Regions from separate parts of the Homo sapiens genome. Here all the other regions are linked to region 1. The links are contacts of gene promoters, found by promoter capture Hi-C in blood cells and fetal thymus (Javierre and others, 2016). All regions are on one chromosome and are shown on one strand. The core of a region is centred on a gene start or on the middle of the fragment in contact, and the rest is flanking DNA. Distances in the headings are between cores, read along the strand shown. Region 1 holds the start of SERPINB8 (serpin family B member 8). Region 2 has its middle 92 kb from the start of TNFRSF11A. Region 3 has its middle 19 kb from the start of ZCCHC2.

Evidence for each region. Contacts are between HindIII fragments. The CHiCAGO score rates a contact against its expected background, and 5 or more counts as called.
Region 2: a fragment that was not itself captured here is called in contact with the fragment with the promoter of SERPINB8 in region 1 in 2 of 17 cell types (activated CD4 T cells and non-activated CD4 T cells); the score reaches 9.4 in activated CD4 T cells.
Region 3: a contact is called between a fragment that was not itself captured here and the fragment with the promoter of SERPINB8 in region 1, in 1 of 17 cell types (non-activated CD4 T cells). The highest score is 5.1, in non-activated CD4 T cells.

What each region holds. Positions count from the first base shown.
Region 1 is chr18:63,968,720-63,971,399 of GRCh38, reverse strand. SERPINB8 (serpin family B member 8) reads right to left here and starts at 1,319. Exons shown (of 7, transcript NM_002640.4): 1 at 1,230-1,319. It overlaps LOC105372165 (a long non-coding RNA gene), which reads left to right and starts at 896. Exons shown (of 3, transcript XR_935576.3): 1 at 896-2,077. It also overlaps a transcript of HMSD not described here. RefSeq lists silencers at 618-837, 908-967, 978-1,177 and enhancers at 651-945, 1,238-1,407, 1,438-1,487. The HindIII fragment of the contact is 1,474 bases long and covers 815-2,288 here.
Region 2 is chr18:62,416,348-62,419,027 of GRCh38, reverse strand. No RefSeq gene overlaps it. Among named protein-coding and RNA genes, the nearest start is that of TNFRSF11A, 92 kb to the right of the region's middle. RefSeq lists an enhancer at 594-643. The HindIII fragment of the contact is 6,401 bases long and covers 1-2,680 here.
Region 3 is chr18:62,502,510-62,505,189 of GRCh38, reverse strand. No RefSeq gene overlaps it. Among named protein-coding and RNA genes, the nearest start is that of ZCCHC2, 19 kb to the left of the region's middle. The HindIII fragment of the contact is 7,862 bases long and covers 1-2,680 here.

The sequences.
Region 1 (2,680 bases), core at 70-2,569:
CAAAGACAGCCAAGGATGTTTGTAAACAGTTAGGGACGGGGATGAGTAGACTGTCTAGAGCCAGAGACCTGGAGCCATCAGCATCCCGATTCCGAGAGGTTCCATGAGAATGGATGAAACTACACAGAACATCTAGTGGAGGCACAAGGGAAGAAATCCACCTATTTCTGTGGAATTTCCAATATCTGGAGGTAGTAAAAGGAAGAGACAGAGGAGGGCGAGGGGAGAGCGCGCGCGCGAAACGGAGACTGAGACCCAGCCATCAGGGTGTGCTGGGAGAACTGGGGAGACGAGTCTGCCCCTGCGAGTGGACCCAGGGAAGAGGGCGCGGTCTACGCAGAGCCCGAGGCAGGGAAGCGGGAGGGGCCCGGAGAGCAGCCCTGGGTGAGGCCCTTTGGAATGGAGAGGTCTCAGGAGTGAAGCAGCAGCCAGAGGACTGAGAGTGTCTGGAAAGTGAGGAATTGGTTAAAGTAACGCCGGTGGCTGCAACAGAGAGGGGCGTAGGTGAAGAAGCACCCCCAACCCCATCCCATTTGAGAGGAAGCAGACAATGAAGAAGAGAATATGAAAGATACAGAAAGATGAAGGCAGGGGTGGAAAGAACGGAGGGGGGGGACAGGAAGGGAAGGAGAAGGTGCAACCAATAGGCTGTAAGCACAGGGGCAAGCTTGGGCGCCAGGGGAGCAGGGACTCGGCGCCTCCCCGATCTGCCCCAGGCGCCACGGAAATTCCAGGCCCCGCCACCCGCACTCCCGGAGCCTCCTCCGCAGCGGCGGCTCCTCCCACTCGCCCTCCCGGGGCTCCCGCCCAAGCTTCCGGCGCTTCCAAACTCACTGCTCGCGTCACCCCCCGCTCCCATCCGGCAGCAAATCACAGCGCAGCAAATCGCAAGCCTAGAAACAGACGCTCCCTCTCCAGGGGCAGCTTCCTATTCAGGGCGGGTCTGGGCGCACCTGTTCTCGGGACCCGGCCCTCGGCCTTCGCCGGGTCTCGCGGTGGGGCTTGGGACCCCGGCTGGTGCCAGGGCGACCCCCACAGCCCCGCGACTCTCTTTCCCGGCCGCCTCCCGCCGTCATTCTCCTAGTTCCTGCCCGCCTTTGCCTCGCTCTGATTCCTGCTCTGGCCTTCCTCCCTTCCCCTCTCTCACGCACTCCAGGGAAGAGGTGGCCTCCGCGGGAACCTGGGCACCTCCGTGCCTGCCCCGCCCGGTACCTGGCAGAGGCCCCCACCTCCTGCTGCTGCTGCTGCTGCCGCCGCCGCCGCCGCCGCTGCTGCTTTGACTATTCCTCCTTTGTAGATGCTTCACGTCCGCCTTGATTGAGGGCAAGGCTTCCGGCAGATGACTCAGAACCGTTCGATTGCTCTGGCTTGTGCAATCCCTGATTCTTTGGGCCTGTGTGGATGTCTGTGGGCACCGGAGAGAGGGCCAGTGCCTGGTCCTTGGAGGGTGGTTTTTATAAAAAGTGTACACATTGGCTATTGTCCTTTTTTCACCGTTGATTCACGTTTGACTCCACTGTAGTTAGACGTCCACCCAAACATTCTCTGAAATTGCTCCTGATAAGGATACTAATCATTTTCTAATTGCCTTGGCCAAAAAATACATCCCAGGTCTTATTTCATTTTGTTTGTTGGCGACATTTAGCCCTTTCTTCTTTGACCTTCCCAGGATTTCCAGAGCACCCTTCCCTTCTTTCCTGACTCCTTTGCTTGGTATCCTGATTCCTTTCCTACCATTCTAAGCCCTCTTCTTTTCATTATAATATGATCTTCTTGTATGACCTCCACTATATCCATAGGTTCATGTTTCAACTTTTAACTTATTTCTTCAAAATCTCTAACCTGTCTCGAGCCGTAGATGTTACCTGTGTACTACTGGACATCTCTCAGAAACCTGGGTGTGTCCCTCCGCAGTTCTTTTAACTAAATGATCAACAGTCCTGTTACTTCTATCACTTTTGTGTTCCTCCTGTCCATACTCTGTCACCTCTATCATGTCTCATGTCTCTCCTAAACAATTAATTTTCCTACCTACAGTTCTGATCCATGCCAACCTATTGCCTACTCTGAAGTTCAGGTAAACATTCCAATTCTAATTATTTTATACCTCAGTTTAAAATCCTTTATAACATCCTCTTATCCAAAAAGATAAATTAGAAACTATTGAGCAAGGAGTGTAAGCCTCTTCACGTCTTGATTTCTCCCTTCTTTTCTTTAGAGCCATAGCAAATTATTTACATTCCTTCATATCCTCTGTTCATATACATGGGGTTCCTGGCATGCAAGCTTGTCTTTCAAAATTCAGTTCAAATAATGTCTCCTGCAGGAAGCTCTCACAGAGCTCTCCAGTTTGGGAATTCTGCTTTTAAAGATGCACATTCCCACTCTGCACCCCAAACCAATTAAGTAAAGATCTCTTGGAGGAGGGAACCCAGCAGCAGTATTTTGTAAAACTCGCTCAGTGATTTCCCTGTGGAATCCTAAAAGTAACTGTTCCCAAGAACTCTCCTCAATAAGTCTTGGTGCAGGATTCACCCCCATCTTTTCTCCATGACTTTGAAACCCCTCTCTCTAGTGGCTACAGACTCACATTTGAACTGTGCCCAAACTTACCGGCTCTGCCAGTTGAAAATGCCAAGGTCACTTCCCCATTGTGCATCAATTTCTCCTTGTTGGTCAG
Region 2 (2,680 bases), core at 91-2,590, 1.6 Mb after region 1:
CGACTGCATACTGTATGATTTCATTTTCATTTCATTGTATGAAATATCCCAGATAGGTAAATCTAGGGAGAATGCAAAGATTAGTGGTCACTCAGGGCTGGGGGTGGGGGGTGCAGGTTGGAAGAAATAGTGAGTGACTGTGAGTGGATGCACAGTTTCTTTTTGGGGGTGATGAATTGTTCTAAAAATTGAATGTGGTGATGGTTGCACAACTCTGAATGTACACACAAAAAACCCATTGAATTGTGCACTTTAAAGAGATGAATTATATGGTATGTGAATTTTATTATTTGTATTTCTTTACACATACCAGTCATCTTCTGTTTGGGCGTTAGTTCTCAATTAGGATATAAAAGGATTCAGCAGTGATGGAGTTTCTCACAAAGGGGTGATGGGCCAAGGAGGTCATGGTCAGAAGGGCAGAGTGCACCCTTCACTGGCCCCTCTTAGGTGATGCTTGCAGAGTTGCTCACAGTTGAGCTCTTTGTAAGAAAGAACATAGAGGAAAAGCTGTAAGCTGCCAGCTATAGAAACCCCTGCAATGCTCCCTTCCTTCCTGTGAGGCACTTGTTCTAATGCGGGTAGTAACTTCTTTGAAATGCTCCAATCATGCCTTTCAGGGTGAAACCCCACATCAATAGCCAGCTTGGCAGCTCCCCAAGTTAGGCATCCATGACTTTCCTCTCTTTCACTGGTGCAACTGACACCATCTTGGAGTCCTGGTTGTCCACCATTGGTCATGTGAATTACTGTTGGTAACAGCTCAATAATGCTGTCATTTATAAAGAAGAGTGAACTTTTCTGGTAGAGATACATGTCAACAATGACAACACACCCTGGTTGGTCCTATGTCATAGGCTGTTTTAATTTACATGTTTACTTTTCAGCTCCTCTACCGAGGAACCACAAAGTAGTAATCTTTGCATCCCCAGGGCCCATGAAAGTTCATCCCTAAATGTTGAACGCTCCATAGATTGGTAGCCTGCTAGCTGGCAACTTGGGAAAATTAATTGCAAGAGAATTGAATCCTCAGTGAGTGCTTCTTTGTAAACATGGGATATTGAAATTTCTGTAAAGCAAGCCCTCACATAAAAAACTCACTTTACAGTGTGAAAATGCCAAAGTTGATTTAAAAATAAAATAGAAGTTAGGACAAATATATGCTTTTGCAAGCATTTATTCAGTGTTTAAATTCAAACAGCTCATATAAATGATATGTTCTAAACATTTCTTGGGGGGTACTTGGTCATGGGTAGGGTGAAATGAAGTTTTTTAAAATAAAAGTTCCATAAAGTTTTGACTGAAGGTATCATGTTTTTCCCCAGTTAATCTTTCAGGGTTAAGCATTGCTTTTCTTTATTGTGCCAAGAACCTCCAACTTCTAAGTTAGGTTTAATCTTCTCAAAAAGTATGCTCTGAGTATTTGATGGGTATGAATGTCTCCAAAGGTATTCAATGGAATATGCTGGTAAAAAGAGCTCTTTGAGGCTTCTCATTCTATGAATTTCAACGATTCCATTTTCATAAACTCCCCATGCTTGAGCTGCTCTGAATGAAAACTTGACAACTCAAGCCTATCTGCAAGAAAAACTTCTTTATTCAACACATAATGTAACCAGGGAAGATTTTTCTTTTTTGACAATTCCAATGGTGTTACTGTCCAAAAGGAGTCTTGTTCTCTTAGAATGAAGTTCTCAAAATATAGATTACAGAAAAAAAAAAAAGGAAATTGAAACCTCACTGAGATACTACTTCTCATTTCTCAGAGGGCCAAAAAAATCATAAAGAAGGACACCATACTCATTTCTGCTGGCAATATTAAGTGGTATAATCTTTATAGAAGAGAGTTTGACAATAGCTAGCAACATTATATGCATTTGCCTTTTGACTCATCAATCCCACTTCTAGGAATCTATTCCAAAGATGCTCTCAAAATAAGAAATTCATATACACAAGGCTTTTCATGATGACACTGCTAGTAAGAGCAAAAAACTGGGAATAGCCCAAATGTCCATCAACAGAGTAATGGTTGAATAAAGTACCTTCACATGTTGGAGTACTATGTAGCTGAAAAAAAGAACAAAGTTTTCTATGTATTGGTGTCAAGTGAGAATAATTTTTAAGTGCAATCCAGATGCAGAAAATGTGTATAATGGGTTACCTCTTCTCTGTGAAGGAAAAAACAACAAATATTTACTATATTTATTTGCTTACATAAAAAAATAATTGAAGGACAAATCAAAACTAAAAAATATTACTGTGGGAGAGGGAGGCAACAGAGGAGGGTACAGGTATGACAGCTAGACTTTCTGTTTATTTGATGGTATCTAGGAATTATTACTAATATTTTTAGATGTGATGATACTGTAGTATGTTTAAAAATTGCCTTATCTTTAGTGATATAAACTAAAGGCTTTTTAAAAGATAAAATTATGTGATATCTGGGACTTTTTAAAACTTTTAATTGCATTTATTCATTTATTGTCTTGAGACAGAGTCTCACTCTGTCACTCCGGCTGGAGTGCAGTGGCGCGATCTCGGCTCGTTGCAACCTCTGTCTCCCAGGTTCAAGCGATTCTCCTGCCTCAGCCTCCTGAGTAGCTGGGATTACAGGCACGCACCACCACGCCCAGCTAATTTTTTAATTTTTAATAGAGAAGGGGTTTCACCATGTTGGCCA
Region 3 (2,680 bases), core at 85-2,584, 1.5 Mb after region 1:
AGCCATGAAGGACTAACCTGGATGTTCTTGGGGACTGTGGTTGATTCCCATGGAGGCAGCTCCACAGAGGTCCTGGGCTCAAGTGTGGTACCTGAGAGAGGGTCAAGAGTCTGGTGGTTGTTGTCATTTTAAAATTTATTCTATTTTATTGATGTAAAGTTCACTCAACATAAAATTAACTAAAACCTGAAGGTAGCTTTTTACAATATTTTAAATAGTTTTGTGCACGAAACAAAGTTTGTGATAAGTATTTTTGTGTGGAATTTACCACTTGTGGCATCATATCAGCATTCAAAAAGTTTCAGATTTTGATGATGAGTCGAAAATGCATTTAATACACCTAACCTACCAAGCATCAGAGCTTAGCCTAGCCTGCCTTAAACCATGCTAAGAACATTTACATTAGTCTACAGACGGGCAGAATCTTCTGTAACACAGTTGATGTAGTTTGGATATTTGTCCTCTCCAAACCTCATGTTGAAATTGGCCAGGCACAGTCGTTCATGCCTGTAATCCCACCACTTTGGGAGGCCGAGGCGGGCGGATCACGAGGTCAGGAGTTCGAGACCAGCCTGACCAACATGGGGAAACCTCGTCTCTGCTAAAAATACAAAAATTAGCTGGGCATGGTGGCACGCGCCTGGAATCCCAGCTACTCAGGAGGCTGAGGCAGGAGAATCGCTTGAACCCGGGAGGCGGAGGTTGCAGCACTCCAGCCTGGGAACAGAGTGAGACTCCGTCTCAAAAAAATAATTATTAAAAAAAAAAAAAAAAAAAAGAGGGAGAAATTTGACCCTGTGTTGGAGGCGGGGCCTGGTGAGAGGCGTTTGGGTGGAGGTGGGGCCTGGTGAGAGGTGTTTGGGTCAGGGAGGTGGGTCCCTCATGAATGGCTTGGGTCCTGTCCTTGTCCTCACAGTAATGACTGAGTTCCTTTTCTACCGGTTCCTGCAACCAGACGGAGTTTCGCTTTTGGCGCCCAGGCTGGAGTGCGGTGGGCAATCTCGGCTCACTGCAATCTCCGATTTCCGGTTTCAGGCGATTCTCCTGCCTCAGCCTCCCGAGTAGCTGGGATTACAGGCGCCCACCACCATGCCCCGCTAATTTTTGTATTTTTAGTAGAAACAGGGTTTCACCATGTTCACCAAGCTGGTCTCAAACTGCTGACCTCGTGATCCGCCCGCCTCGGCCTCCCAAAGTGCTGGGATTACAGGCGTGAGCCACTGCGCCCGGCCTCTTGCAACATTTGACTGTTAAAAAGAGCCTGACACCTCCTTCCCTCCCTCCTCCTCCCACTCTAGCCAAGCGATGCTTTATCTCCTTCCCCTTCCGCTATGATCACAAGTTTCCTGAGGTCCTCATCAGAAGCAGATGTTGGCAGCGGGCTTCTTGTGTACCCTGCAGAATTGTGAGCCAAATAAATCTCTTTTCTTTATAATTTTTTTTTAAAGGCCGGATGTGGTGGCTCACGCCTGTAATCCCAGCACTTTGAGAGGCCGAGGCAGGCGGATCACGAGGTCAGGAGTTTCAGACCAGACTGGCCAACATGGTAAAACCCCGTCTCTACTAAAAATACAAAAATTAGCTGGGCGTGGTGGCGGGCGCCTCTAGTCCCAGCTACTCTGGAGGCTGAGGCAGGAAAATCCCTTGAAACTGGAAGGCAGAGGTTGCGGTGAGTCGAGATCGCACCACTGCACTCCAACCTGGGCGAAAAAGCGAAACTCCATCCCCCCCACCCCCCAAAAAAGTTTCAGAGTTTGGAGCATTTCAGATTTTAGATTTTCGGATTAGGGATGTTCAACTGTGTAGAATTCAGTTGTATTTGGTGCGTTCACTGTACTGCGCAACAATCCGCTGTAGCTTGCTCCAAAGCATTTGTGTGACCTGAAAGGAAATCCTGTACCCATGAAGCACTCACTCCCCACTCCCCTCCTCTCTTCAATCCCTGCCAACAGCTAAAGTATTTTTGTCTCTGTGGGATTTACCTCTTCCCAATATGCCATACAAATGCAATCCTACAATCAATGACATTTGGTGTCTGTCGTCTCACTTCTCATACTGTTTTTGAGTTCATCCCCATGGTAGAATGAAGCATGTAGCATTGCGGTATTATGGCTGAATTATATCCCATGGTAGGTGCCTACCACGTTTTATTTATCTGTTGACGGGCATGTGGGTTGCTTTGCCTTTTGGCTATTGTGAATGGTGGTGCTATGCATATTACTGTACAATTATTTGAGTACCTGTTTTCCGGTTTTTTGAGGTATATACCCAGGATGTTAAATCGTATGATAATTCTGTATACCTTTTTGAGGAACTACCAAACTGTTTTCCACAAGGGCTACATCACTTCACAATGGTTCTAACTTCTCAATATCCTCGCCAATACTTGTTACTTTCTGTTATTTTCATTTTTATTTTTTGGACGGAGTCTCGCTCTGTCGCCCAGGCTGGAGTGCAGTGGCGCGATCTCAGCTCATTGCAAGCTCCGCCTCCTGGGTTCACGCCATTCTCCTGCCTCAGCCTCCCGAGTACCTGGGACTACAGGCACCTGCCACCACGCCTGGCTAATTTTTTGTATTTTTAGGAGAGACAGGGTTTCACCTTGTTAGCCAGGATGGTCTTGATTTCCTGACCTCGTGATCCACTGGCCTCGGCCTCCCAAAGTGCTGGGATTACAGGC